2 separate regions of the Homo sapiens genome follow, and region 1 is linked to region 2. Evidence: promoter capture Hi-C in 16 types of primary human blood cells and fetal thymus (Javierre and others, 2016). All regions are on one chromosome and are shown on one strand. The core of a region is centred on a gene start or on the middle of the fragment in contact, and the rest is flanking DNA. Distances in the headings are between cores, read along the strand shown.

The links. The method cuts DNA at HindIII sites, captures the fragments that hold promoters and counts their contacts. A CHiCAGO score of 5 or more calls a contact.
Region 1: a contact is called between a fragment that was not itself captured here and the fragment with the promoter of PZP in region 2, in 1 of 17 cell types (endothelial precursors). The highest score is 7.4, in endothelial precursors.

The regions. Positions count from the first base shown.
Region 1 is chr12:9,096,569-9,104,150 of GRCh38, reverse strand. A2M (alpha-2-macroglobulin) reads left to right here. Exons shown (of 36, transcript NM_000014.6): 12 at 2,477-2,704; 13 at 2,944-3,007; 14 at 4,628-4,770; 15 at 5,395-5,544. It also overlaps a transcript of KLRG1 not described here. Among named protein-coding and RNA genes, the nearest start is that of A2M, 16 kb to the left of the region's middle. The HindIII fragment of the contact is 946 bases long and covers 5,853-6,798 here.
Region 2 is chr12:9,206,505-9,213,693 of GRCh38, reverse strand. PZP (PZP alpha-2-macroglobulin like) reads left to right here and starts at 5,299. Exons shown (of 36, transcript NM_002864.3): 1 at 5,299-5,435. The coding sequence starts at 5,353. It also overlaps a transcript of KLRG1 not described here. The HindIII fragment of the contact is 2,989 bases long and covers 4,100-7,088 here.

The sequences.
Region 1 (7,582 bases), core at 5,076-7,575, 110 kb after region 2:
TAGTTCTATGGAGAGAAAAAAACTAGCAATTAGAAACCGATTGAAGGTTAACTTTTTTAAAGTTTATGAAAAGAAGGCAGTATATTGTGATTAAAAGTGCGGGTTAGACTTTAGCAGTGTTGCTGGGAACGTAAAATGGCGGAGCCACTATGAAAAACAGTATAGTAGTTCCTGAAAAAATTAAAAAATAGAATTACCAAATGATCCAGTAATCCTACTTCTGGACATATATTCAAAAGAATCGAAAACGGGGTCTCAAAGAGCTATTTGCACACCCGTGTTCATAGCCGCACTATTCACAATAGCTGAGAGATCGAGGCTACCCAAATGTCCATCAAGGGATGAACAGGTAAACAAAATGTGGTATATAAATACAACAGAATATTATGCAGCCTGAGAAGGGAAGAAAATCCTGTCACATGCTACAGCATGAATGATCCTTGAGGACGTTATGGTAAGTGAAATAAGCTAGTCACAAAAAGACCAATACTGTATGATTCACGTACATGGGGTTTCTAAAGTAGTCAAAGTCATAGAAACAGAAAACAGGATGGTGGTTGCCAAGGGCTAGGGAAAGAGAGAAATGGGGAATTCCTCTTATTGGTATTCAGGTTTAGTTTTACAAGATGAAAAGTTCTGGAGATCTGTTGCACAACAGATATACTTAATACTACCAAACTGTACACTAAAGAATAATGAAGATGGTAATTTTATGTTGTGTGTGTGTGTGTGTTTATAATAACTTTTTTGAAAAGTGTGAATTCCAGAATCTGAATCAGATAAAGTGGTTAAAAATACTGGCTCAACCCTATTTTAAGGAATTAACTAAAACCTCTGTGCTTCATTTCCTTATCTGTAAAATGATTGCAATACTAACACCTGACTCTTGGGGTGGTTGTGAAGATTAAGTGAAATCATACATGTTGAATCACTTAGTAAGCCCCCTTTAACTGTTAGATACTTTTACTATAAAAGCCAATTCTAACATAATTAGCATTTAGTTTTAAATATATATACTCCAAAAATTATTACCTTACTTTATTTTGTCTTGCTATTCTAATTTTCTCCAGATGACCTGTTCATACCAATATAAGTTATTCGGTATAGCATGCAGTCCTCTATTCATCAAGAGAGATGTAGACATGTCTATAGATACATGGATATACAATACATATTTAATATATATTACATAATCATGGTAATGGAAAACGCCTGCCTCTTTAGAGTTTTACCTTGTTATAGAGAAATAAATAATACATTTTATTTATTTAGCTTTAATAGATGGCATAAAAGCACCTCCCTCTAATTTGAATGTTTACTCATTTCAAAAAGTGTCTTGAATGCTTTCCACGTGCCAGCACTGTGCTAGTCTTGACAATGAAATTATTATTTCTACCTGTTCCCTGTTTGGGGTGATCATATATGTGTTGTCACCAAAATATACATTAAGATATGAACAAAATGTTTTGCTCAAGGATTCACTAGTGCTATTGGGAGCTGGGGATGAAGGTAGAGGAAGCCTGAAAGGAGCTAAGGAATAACTTCTACAGGAAGAAAAGTTGGAAATATAACCCAAATAGGGCCTCTGAGGTATTAGAATCCAGATTGCAGGGAGCATTAAAAATAGTCAGCCTAGGCCAGGCACGGTAGCTCACGCCTGTAATCCCAGCACTTTGGGAGGCTGAGGTGGGTGGATTGCGTGAGGCCAGGAGATCGAGACGAGCCTAGGCAACGTGGTGAAACCCTGTCTCTACAAAATATACAAAAAATTAGCTGGGTGGGGTGGCATGCACCTGTAGTCCTAGCAACTCAGGAGGCTGACTGGGAGGATCACTTGAGCCCCAGAGGCAGAGATTGCACTGAGCCAAGATTGTGCCACTGTACTCCAGCATGGGCGCCAGAGCAAAACCCTGTCTCAAAAAAATAATAATAATAGCAATCAGCCTAAGATAGCCCAGAAGAGGTAGACTTCAGCTAATTCATCAGCTCAGCTCTTAAACCAATGCTTTCTACCAATGTCTTCTCAGACCCCTAAGGTTACAATATTTTATTTATTCATAATACCCATTCAAAATCCACCCTAAAAGAGGCAGCTGCTTTCTGAAAGCACAGTTCTTCCATTTCTAGAGATTATTTACTCTCCTCAATGAAGTTTCATAGCTCCAGTGTCTCTAATTGCACAGGTAAAGCAGTCAAAGAAATTTCAAGCAAGCTAATCAGAGCAAAGGATGCCTCCTTTTATGCTCTTAAGAAATATAAATCTCAATCCCAGGAGGCTCTGCAGTGTAAAGTCACAAAGCATGCCTACATTTGAAGCAGAGAAACAAAATCAGGGGTCCTTCTCCCACTTTTCATTGTGGAACAAAAGATTTCTAGCTACTAGTTAAGGTAGGACAGTAAACTTACGTAGTTTTGTGAGAACATTAATCTTTATGACGTATAATCTAAAAATAATATAATTTTTCTAATTCATTAGGTCAATTACAAGGATCGTAGTCCCTGTTACGGCTACCAGTGGGTGTCAGAAGAACACGAAGAGGCACATCACACTGCTTATCTTGTGTTCTCCCCAAGCAAGAGCTTTGTCCACCTTGAGCCCATGTCTCATGAACTACCCTGTGGCCATACTCAGACAGTCCAGGCACATTATATTCTGAATGGAGGCACCCTGCTGGGGCTGAAGAAGCTCTCCTTCTATTATCTGGTGAGAAGGGAGGTTACTGCGTTGACTTCACTGTAGACAAAAGCTCTCTGTGGAGCAAGTAATCATGAAGCTCTTTAGATGTCATTACTTCAACTTCTTATCCATGTTCCTTTTGAAAGTTTGATTTCTCTTGAGGTGAATTATTGCCGGCAGGGACTCAATAAAACAAGTATATTGAAGTGAGACTGAAGCGTGTTCTCTCTGGCACATTTAATTTCTTTTTATTTCCTTTTTTGCAGATAATGGCAAAGGGAGGCATTGTCCGAACTGGGACTCATGGACTGCTTGTGAAGCAGGAAGACAGTGAGTATTTCCATCATCTCTGCATTGCTGCCCCATTCTGACCCATTCAGCCTTACACCACGGAAGTATCAGAATACTTTCCCTTTTTTTCCATAGGTTTTTGGGGGAACAGGTGGTGTTTGGTCACATGAATGAATAAATTCTTTGGTAGTGATTTCCGAGATTTTGGTGCACCCATCACCCGAGCAGTATACATTGTACCCAATTTGCAGTCTTTTATCCCTCACCCCCTTCCACCCTTCCCCCTGAATCCACAAAGTCCATTGTATCATTCTTATGCCTTTGCATCCTCATAACTTAGCTCCCACTTCCTAATAGCTTAGCTGCCACTTCCTAATAGCTTAGCTCCTACTTCTGAGTGAGAAGATATGATGTTTGGTTTTCCATTCCTGAGCTGGGAATATCAGGAATACTTTCAAGTAACGAGAGACCATTTCCATCTAATATTAATTAAAAGAAAGTTGAGGGAGGGAAAACAATAATGGTTTTTTTCTCACCCTTTATCAAATATGTGTTGTCTTTTTTTTCAGCCTATTTTCTTTGCGTTATTTAAAATATTGGTGTGGGCCAGCTATGATGGCTTACGCCTGTAATCCCAGTACTTTGGGAGAACGGGATGGGAGGATCTCTTGAGGTCAGGAGTTTGAGACCAGCCTGGTCAACATAGTGAGACCCCATCTCTATAAAAGTAAATAAATAAATAAATAAATAAATAAGAACAAAGGGGGAAAAATAAAATACATAAAATATTGTTGTGTATAATCTATGCTTATTCCAGATTTTTAAACCATAAATATTCTTGAACCTCTTCTCAAAATGAGAATTGTGTTAGAGAATGGGGTGGAGAAAATGTACGATTTCAAGGTATGTTGTATATACCAGGTCTTGTGCTGAGTCATTTATGTCATTTATATTATTATAAATATCTTTTTTCCCTTTCAAGATAGTTATGATTTATGAAGCATTAAATTGGGTACTTCTACCGACTGAAGCGGACTCTTGCCATGAGCAAATATGTCATAATATAAACCTTTGAAGGTTGCTCCTAGTCTAGTAGACTCTAAAAGATAACTTGCTAGAAAAGTATCAGTAATCTACTCTCTCATTAGTTCTTGTAGCAACACAGAAGCACCATAGCAGACTGAAGGAAACTTAATGCAACCTCTAAAGAATCTACATAGGCATCAAAAAATAACTTCTGAAGGAGCATGGTGTTCCTCTTATGGAGAAAGAACCAAATATTGGCTCATAGAAGGTTAAAGAGCATGTAGCATGAATACAATGTGTTGAACTCTTACTCTTACATCTCATAACTTCAGGTTCTATTTCCCTCTTCTAGTATGAGGCCTAGATCAAATGGTAGTGAATTGGATGTCTTCATACCCTTAACTAGCATCAGAACATTAGGTGGGTGAGCTGAAGCTTAAAGCTGGTGAAAAATCAACAGAGTATATGATTTATGAGAGGAGAGAGGGCTTTGATAGGGTTTTTTTCTAAAGCTAGAGTCCTTAGAGGTAATCATCCATTTGTTACATCTACTGTTTATTATGTCTGTTACATCTACTAATGGAAATAGTCATTAACCTATGATGGCTTCCTCTCATTCTCTTTGTGCCCCAGTGAAGGGCCATTTTTCCATCTCAATCCCTGTGAAGTCAGACATTGCTCCTGTCGCTCGGTTGCTCATCTATGCTGTTTTACCTACCGGGGACGTGATTGGGGATTCTGCAAAATATGATGTTGAAAATTGTCTGGCCAACAAGGTGTGTGTTTTAGATCATAAAATCTTCAACATGTAAAACTAGAAGTTACTATTGTTATCATTTGTTTTACACATGTGAACATTAGGGCCAAAAGGGTTAAACAAATTCCCCAGAGACATTCAGCAAGGTAGTGGCAGAGTCACACTAAGAAGCAGAATCACTTGATTCCTTATACAAAACTCTCAAACTTCTCCTAGCAGTGCCTCTTACCAATTACACAGTTCAGAGTATGTTATTCCCTTCTTCTATGATGAAACGTTGGGAAATATGTAAGCAAGTTTTTAAGACTACTAAGGAGCCAAAAGAAAAATGCAAGAGCACCTAGACCCATGCATGTCCCACCACAATTAATGAGCACCTTGCCGTGTATCAAAGATAAAAATGGCATTTCATGACTAGTAATTTATAAGAATAATTAGAAATAATTCTACTGGCTCAAGTGATTCTTGAGAATGAAAGAGAAGTGTAGGGAACAAAAAGCTTCAGGATTGACACAATGCCAACCCTCCACGAAGTCAAGCAGAGTGGTTATACATTGTACATGAGGAACACTCTGCAAATGCGAGTGAATGCATGGGTAAACCTGGAAATTTGCTTTTCTGACCTTTTGTTCCAATTTCACAGGTGGATTTGAGCTTCAGCCCATCACAAAGTCTCCCAGCCTCACACGCCCACCTGCGAGTCACAGCGGCTCCTCAGTCCGTCTGCGCCCTCCGTGCTGTGGACCAAAGCGTGCTGCTCATGAAGCCTGATGCTGAGCTCTCGGCGTCCTCGGTGAGTTCCTGGCAGCCTCAGGAATCAAGAAGGGCCGTGCCAGGGGCTCAGAGCAAGGAAAAATGACTGGATAAGTAGGATAAGATCAATTAAAATTATATTTATCTAGGAATTAATTGCTTTGAGCTCTCTTGTGGGCTTTCATTGGTAAGGAATTATATATATATATATATATAACTACTCACTTCTGCAGTTAAAAAAATAAACAAAATACAATATATTGAATCAAATAAAAGAATTTTTAAAAGGACAAAATGTGATGAAAATTAACAACCAAAAAAGGACTCGTTATTCAGACACGTTAAGCTTCTTGCTCAAGAGCACATAGCAATACAAATTCAAATCTTCTGATTGTGTCAGGACATCCGTATATGCAAGGCTGGAGAGAATACAGAGCAGATTGTGAAAAGTGCTATATGAGAAGTGCAGTTATGCAAAATAAAAGAAAGGATTAACTGAGCAACCGGGGAAGCCGTTCGAAAATTATATATTTAAAATGTAAAAAGACCATACAGTACCCAAAGTCCTTAAAATCCCAGAGCTCCATGCAACCAGTAATAGGAGTTGTCAAACTAGTTTCAACATTTCAAAAAGCCTAACAAAAGTGATACATATACCTGCACTGAGGCTATACAGGCTAAATGAAATATCAGATTTCCGTTTTTATAAGAATTATGGCTGGGCCTGGTGGCTCACGCCTGTAATCCCAACACTGGGAGGCCAAGGCAGGCAGATAACTTGAGATCAGGAGTTTGAGACCAGTCTGGCCAATATAATGAAACCCCGTATCTACTAAAAATACAAAAATTAGTCAGACGTGGTGGCGGGCGCCTGTCATCCCAGCTACTCAGGAGGCTGAGGCAGGAGAATCACTTGAACCCAGGAGGCAGAGGTTGAGTGAGCCGAGATCGTGCCACTGCACTCCAGCCTGGGCAATAGAGCAAGACTTGGTGTCAAAAAAAAAAAAAAAAAAAGAATTACATCAGTTGAAATAATTGCTGTCCCAAGCTACACATAATTTCTGAGGGAACATATGTATTATCTCTGAGGAACAAAACTTAGGGAAATTGAACTACTATATAATTGACATTGATAACTGAACTCTTTGAAAATATGGAGCTAATAGAAGAAATACCAAAAGGATATGCTGAATTGGAACAACAAAAACTAGTTAATAGCATGTACTAATAGTAGTTTGCTCACATCTTCAAATTTTTAATATGAGACCAATTGTAATAACCTCTTACTGAAGCTTTTTCTACTACCATAATTTAACAAAGAGAAATTTATATTTTTATTTTCCTGAAATAGAAACTTATAAAAAAATGTTTCTTACTTGTTTGTCCTTCTAATGGGATTTTAACTGAAAATATTAGAATACTTCTAAAGGAAGCATCAAGTACATTTCAACAGTAGGATCTCAAGAGGATATGTGGGAAAATAATATACATGTTTTATACTTTTATAATATAATTTTATAATTCTCAAAGAATTTTTCAAATTATAACAACCCTGATGGGTAGATAAGGCAGACAGTCCTATTTATTAATAATAAAGCAGAAGCTTTCAGGGATTTAGTAGTAGACCTGAGTTAAAACACCAACTCTTCTCAAGCTTTGATTAGTGTCTTACCAATGAAACACTTTGCTGCTACTAGTGTAGGTCATTCATTCAACACATTTATTTAATGCCCACTGTGTTCTAGGTATTATACTAAGTGCTAGTAGAGATCAAGCAGTGAGCTACTGGAAAGATAAAAATGTATGTCTCATGGAACTTACATTGTCTGTCCCATAGATGAGACAGACAATAATTATGCAATATGCCACAATAAAAGCAGGGAGAGGAAATGAGAAATGTTAAGATACTTTGAGAAAGTGTCTAATTTCATCACACCACTCACTTTGCTCATCTGTTCTTGTCAATCAGTTTTAAACTCCTACGAATATAATGCAATGTAACTATCACAATTTTTATGTCTGTCTTACTTCTCACCTTCAAATGGACTTGAAAGCATCATGCCTAGAATTTTACGGTT
Region 2 (7,189 bases), core at 4,050-6,549:
AATAAAAAGATAAACAATTGAATTAAAAGATGGGCAAAGGAATTCAACAGACATTCCTCTAAAGATGATACATAAATGGTCAGTAAGCACATGAGAATATGCTCAAAATCATTATTCACTAGGAAAATACAAATTAAAACCATAAAGAGATACCTCTTTATATCCACTATGGCTATCATTCTAAAAATTAAATATAGACAGAATAACAAATGTTGCCAAAAATGTGGAGAAAATGGGATGTTCATACACTGCTGGTGGGAATTTAAAATGTTTCAGCCACTGTGAAAAATAGTCTGGCAGTTCTGCAAAAAGTTAAACACTGAGCTACCATATGACCCACAGATTCACTCCTGTATATATTCCCCCAAAAAATGAAATCATATGCTCATGCAAACACTTGTATACAAATATTTATAGCAGAATTATTCACAATAGCTAATAAATGAGAATAACTCAAATGTCTATCAACTGAGGAATGGATAAACAAAATGTGGTATGTCCATACATTGGAATATTGTTCAATATCGTTCACTCATGTAAAGGAATGAAGTACTATATATATGCTACAACATGGAAGAACTTTGAAAACATCACGCTATGTGAAAGAAGCCACACAACATAGGCCACATATATTATGATTCTATTAATATGAAATGTCCAAATAGGTAAATTCATAAAAATATAAAGTAGATTAGTGTTTGCAGAGAATGCACGAATTAGTATTTCTACTTGTTGAAAATAGGAAGTGACTACTAACATGTATGTAGTTTCTTTTGGGGGTGATGGAAATGTTCCATAATTTCATAGTGGTAATAATTACATAACACCATGAGCATACTAACAGCCACTGAATTGTACACTGTAATGTAATAAATGTTATGTAATGGGAATTTGTGTCCATTTAAAAATTGTAAAAAATAGCCAACTATGGAAAAAATTTACTGGTTTTTTTTTTCAGATTCAATGTTATAAATGAAGGAAATAATTTCCTTTCCTGCAAACTTTATTGCACATTCATTCAGATTTTCTCTTTCACTGTCCCATTTCACATTCTGGAAAAATCAGATATTTTAAGACAAAACTACTCTTTTCCTCATTTGGAAAACATTTGTCCTATTATCTTGCATAGACAGTTATGTTTTTTGTCACTACTGTTTCTACCATGGCCTCAACTATACATATTAGTTATAACATTTAATGAAAGAAAATAACTAACATAAAAAAACTAGAAAAGATGATTGGCTACTTTCTTTCTTATACAGTGAATCCTAAAATGGCCTTGAAATCTGGTACCAGCTCCTCTATGATGCAGTCTAAGAGCAGTCTTGCCCTCACAGGGACCTAATGGGAGAAATGCTCACAAGTGCCCTGGTAGGCTGAACTTGGTCCCACTGTGGATCTTAAAACAGCACTGTATACTGGCTCCAGGCCCTCTCATCTGTGATTTGAGAGCAGGCCTGCCCACTCAGGGACCCAGTGGGACACATGCCCATTCATGAACCCAGAGGCAGGCCTGAAGACCTGGGTCTCAGCTGTAGGCCCTGAGGCAGCCCTGTTACTTGGTTCTCTTTTCTCTCAGCTGCAATCTGGACCAGCACTGTCTGCCTAGGAACCTACCCAGTGACCCAGTAGGAGCCCTCCTAAGGACCCAGAGGAAGCCACATTCATCCACATATCTCGTAACTAGCCTACAATCTGTGGACTCTAAAGTAGACCCTCATCCCAGTGCCAGACCTACTGACCAAGGTCTAGGAGGCAGTCCAATTTACCCAGGGAACAGACAGAATCTAAGCCTACTAGAGCCCCAGTTAACAGGCCTGCCAACCACAGACCTCACTGTTGACCCAGCAAAACCATGTGACCTGGCTCTACCTCCAGTTGACCACAATTCTGGAAGCAATCTTGTCAATCCTGGGAACCCAACAGGAGGATCCTGAGGATCTTTACCTGTAAAACCAGTCTATAAAGATGGGAAAAGGTGTTTGCTCCTTCAGATGCATAGAAACCAATGCAAAGTTACACAGATAATGATGAACCAGGCAAACATAATACCACCAAAGGAAACCAATGAAGTTCCAGTAACTAATCTCCACCCCAAATGGAGATCTACAAATTTCCCCCCAAAATTCAAAATAATCATCTTAAAGATGCTCAGTAAGATGCAAGAAAACACAGATAGACAACTAAATAAAATTAGAAAAACAATGTATGAACAAAATGAGAAGTTTAATAAAGAAATAGAAACCATTAAGAAAAAACACACAAAAATTATATAAGAACAGAACTGAATATTTTAATGGAGAGCTTCAACAGCAAACACAGTCACACAAAAGAAAGAATTAGTAACTTGAAGACAGGTCATGTAAATAGTTAATTAAAGGTGAAAAAAGAAAAAAAATTAAAGAAGAGTGAAGAAAGTATAAGGGACCTATGGAATACCATCAAGCATGCAAATACACATATTATGGGAGTCCTAGAAGGAGAAAAGAGGGAAATGAGCAGAAAGCTTATTTAAAGGAATACTGGAAGAAAAATGTAAAAGCTAGAGTATTGGTGGCAATATGGGGATACGAAAATCCTCATGCACTACTGGTAGAATTGTGGTGTGATGCAACCATTCTGGAGAGTTATTTGTCACTATTTAGTCACTTAAGTACATGCCTCTCATACAACAATCTCACTCCTGTGTATGCGTCTTGCAAGAGGATTTACCTGTCTCAAAGGGTATATGTAAAAAGATATTTATCAAAGCATTATTTCCTCATGGCAGGACAATAGAGACAATCCTGTTTTTATCATTAGGAGAGTGGAAACATTAAACCTCTTGGATGATCACCAAAGAGGGCTATACTGTAATAAAATGCAATTAATAAAATACATACATATAAACATATAAACATGGGAGGATGTTTTAAAACTAGCAATAACTAAAAAGAATAAGAAACAGGCAAGGTCTTTTTCCAATACTCTTTATATAAAATAAAAATACACACTTAAGACTTTCCTTTCCAGTAATGGTATACAAGGTAATTGAGACCAAACTTCCCACTTAAATTAGGAATGGTTGGTTATATATATATTCACTGGAGGTATTGAAAAGCAAAGACTGTGAAGAATTATGAATCCAAAGTTCAGAAGCAACATAGCAACCCAAAGGGGCAATTCTGTGTTTAAGGGCACTTTCCCCTTAGGGTATTTAACAGCTCCAGAATATTTGGCTGAGAGATTTAGAAGCACATTTTAAAGCCTTTAGTAAATAAAATTGCAGCGTCTAGAGTCCAAGGCTCATGAAACTGGGGCAAGGAGATGTTCCTGATAGACCCTTTACATATTGTGTTGAGATATCAAACTGATGGTAGAATTCAAATGGTCCATAAACATATGAAAAGATGTGTAAAGTCATTAATAATGAAAATTAAGGCAAGATACTGCTTCACTCATCAGATTGATAAAAAGTAAAATGCCTAGCAGAGTAAAACGATGGTAAATATATAATAAACTGAAAATATCCACTGTTGCAGATGGGTATTCAAATCCATGTAATACTCTGAAGAGCAATTTACCAATCTGATAGATTTCAAGATGTACATACATATATAGCCTATAACCCAATCTCTGCTATATACCCTAGAGAAAGTCTTGCAAATATGCTTAAGTAGACATACCGTATTTGTAGCAGTATTATTTGTAATGTTGAAAACTATGAAGAATCCAAAATTCAGCACTAGGGGAATAGAGTAACAGGTTCGGCCACATTCATACAATAGAATGTCGTATAGATGGTCATTAAAATTAATAAATTTTATCCTCATTATCAATGCTAATAAGTCTTAAAACCATAATAGTGATGACATATTTTACAATATGTGCATACCACTTATACATATAAAATACAAAACACAAAATTATGCTATATATTATTTACATAAATATGGATTAAAAACATAAACACATCTTGAAGAATACATATCAACTTCCTAATCCCACAACATTGGAAGGGAAATGAGATTGGAGAGAATTACAAAGGAAACTCCAACCATATTTGTCTTGATTTATTTCTTTTTTTGGGTTGGTGGATCTGGTAAAAACTGGAAAAGCTTCTAGACAAATTTTAAAAGAGCACTACCATTGCCATCTTTCATTTCTTAAGAAGAAATGACCTTAAACAAACTTGGCAAGTGTTTAATTTTATTAAAGTTGGGTGCATGTAAGGTACGAGTGTCTTTTATCTTGCTCTCTATATTTGTGAGTATATATATATATAACATTTCATAATTTAAAAGAAATTATTTCATTCTATGATAATGTGACAAAAGAAACAAAGATGTGAAATAAAAACTAATAGGAAGGAATCCACTTTCAGCAGTGTGGCCAGGAATTTGCTCTCCAAAGAAGGGATGATTAGGCTGAAATATGGAGAAAGAGAAAGAAAGTTGATTTAAAAAGTTTCAAGCAATACAGTATGTAAACAGACACCAATGTCTGCAGTCTAAGGATGGCATTAAATCTGCTGGTGGTTTATATGTGATCATCATTGTACTACAAGTTCTATGAGAGCATGGATACTGAATATCCTGTTCAATATTGTATTTTCATCACCAGAATAGCACTTAGCACACAGTATGGCTCAAAAAAAAAATCTCAGATAAAGTCAATGACATGGTTTAAGGGACTCAAACGTTAGAGTGCTCAGACAGTAACAAGGACAGATAGGATCAACTAAGAATCTGATCAGGTCAATGCTGTGAAATAGACAAGTGTGATCTTTGATAACTCCTTTCTAAAATCTCTTTGATCTTTTATCTCTTTTATCTTTCATTGATCCTCTACTCTTGAAATCCTTATTTTATATCACTTTCTTCCAGGACCATGTACTCAATCAACTGCTAAAAAAGAAAACCCAAAAACCCTAAAGTCTATAGTTATAACTCACTCAGTCCCAGAAATGAATCTGCAATGCATGAGCTACTATCATGGTAACATGTCCCTGACATTCTTTGTCAGCATCCTTTGTCACCTGCTTGTAAGGATTTTGAAAGAGATGGAGAAAGGTAGGTTGAAGGTTCCTTATCAGGAGGTTTGCTGTCAAAGCTCATTCTAAATGGAATACAAATTTTATCTTCCAGACATGCCTCAGTACCTATCAGAATTTAGCCTTGAGAAAAATGAGGCAACCACTGAGAGTAATGACCCTTTTAGGGAATCTGTGCTCAATTCTGAACTCTATTCAGAGGCCTTGGGGTGGGGCTTGTTTGTACATAGTGGCCACATAAAGCCTGGTAAACTCAGCTGGTCTCCAGGGCGAGGCTGAGGGCAGAGAGTTGGACACAACCCTGAGATTTATCCCTCACAATGCGGAAAGACAGACTTCTTCATTTATGTCTTGTGCTACTTCTTATCCTGCTTTCTGCCAGTGACTCAAACTCTACAGAACCGTAAGTCTCACTCAAGACCCCTTCCTCCAGAGTGCGTTTCAGTCTCTCCCTTGTGTCTTCGCTTTGCCTTCCTTTGTAAATGCCACCTTTCCACTCATTACAATACCTTCCAAATATAAGAAATTATTCCAGTTAATCCCTTGTTTGTCTTTCATTTATCCTCTATTCTTGAAATCATTTTTTCTACACTGGGCCAATCAGAGTCATAAATACGATTAGTCACTAGGAAGCATGATTAAATAAAACACTAGATCCCAACTTCACAGAACAGTTCTTTTGGATGGAAGGCACTGAATATAGAGATATTCGAAATATATAGTGAAGTGCAACTTAACATGTATTGTAGGCCATATATATATATACAGAAAGTATAGCTCCTTTATTTTTCAATCATGTATCAAGTCTTCACCAACAGCCCCCAGTGGGGGACCAAAGCAGGGAAAATAATTTTAACCCTATCCAGTTGTAAGTTGGTACAACTCAATAATTGTAAGACTTCTTTTCCACCTCTCCCCAGTTCCTCTCCTCTATAGTGTCTAGAGAACTGTGGTCTCCATTAACTCCTAATAGAGAAAACTGTCAGAGTCCTTGGTCTCAAAGTTCTCCGTCCTTCTTGGCTACTGTCAGTCTGACTTCTCCTTACTTGCTGGCATGCACTGTTGAAGTTTAGCCATCTGGTTTCTCTTGTGTGTTCAGGACCCAACAGTCCTCTCTAACTGACTGTCTCACTTCAGCTGTTTCATATCCCATAGAACTCCTACCTTTGCATCCTGCCTCAAATACTATGGCTATTGTTTCAACACAGCCTGTGATGCAGGGTCACCTTGCCCCTTTGCAGTCCAGGCCATTTAAGGTCCCTGGCCTTAACCCAGCTGCCTTTACATTTCTTCCAGAGAATGGTGAGAACTCTTGGGTCCAATAATAGCACATAGGCACTGAGGTGTCCTGGAGAGGTTAAACTTCTACCTCTCTCTTGCATACCCACACTGCACTTCTAGATGCCTATCGTGTCTCCTGTATTCCAGACTGATACAGGGAAGTCTTCAGAGTCCCAAATCGGGAAAGGGATAAGGGGTCCCTCTGCTCTGTGTGTTACCCTTATCCATCTAACACAAATAGCCTTCTTCAGGCCAAAGCGCAGAAAGCAGAAATAAGGAGTTCAATCCAGTAAGTCTCCTGCTTTCCTCAGGCTTTTTCCTTGCACAATTTCCTGGCAACCGGTAGGGGTACATTTCTCCCCCACTATCCCTCTACCTCATCTACAGCAGTGGGCTCTACTACTTCCAGCTGCTCTCCATCCAGAAAGCATATGGGAATATGTGGAGGCTATTTTGCTTTCTGAGAGCAGACTGAATGGATAAAGCGAGTAGCGTGTATTGGGTCAGAAACATTAAGCAATTTGTGGTTCTGGATGCATTCCTACACTACATTGGACCATGCTGCCATTGAAACCATCCTTTTACGTTGTGTCTGCCACTGAACAAAGAACAACAAGCCTCATGCCCTAGTTGTCACAAGCAGAAGGGGTGTTTTCTCCCTTTATAAGGAGAAAACTTAACTTCATCCCTCCAGAATTAACCCTTGATGTGATAAATGTGAGAGACTACAAAAGAGAACCAATAGCCATTCTCCCCTGCCTTGGGGCAGTAAGCTTCAGAAAGATGAAGGTTTCAGGGGAATAAAATGAAAAAGAGAAAATTAAAAGTTATCACTTTAATATTTGCTACATTTAGTCCCTGCTAAAGAGGCAAATA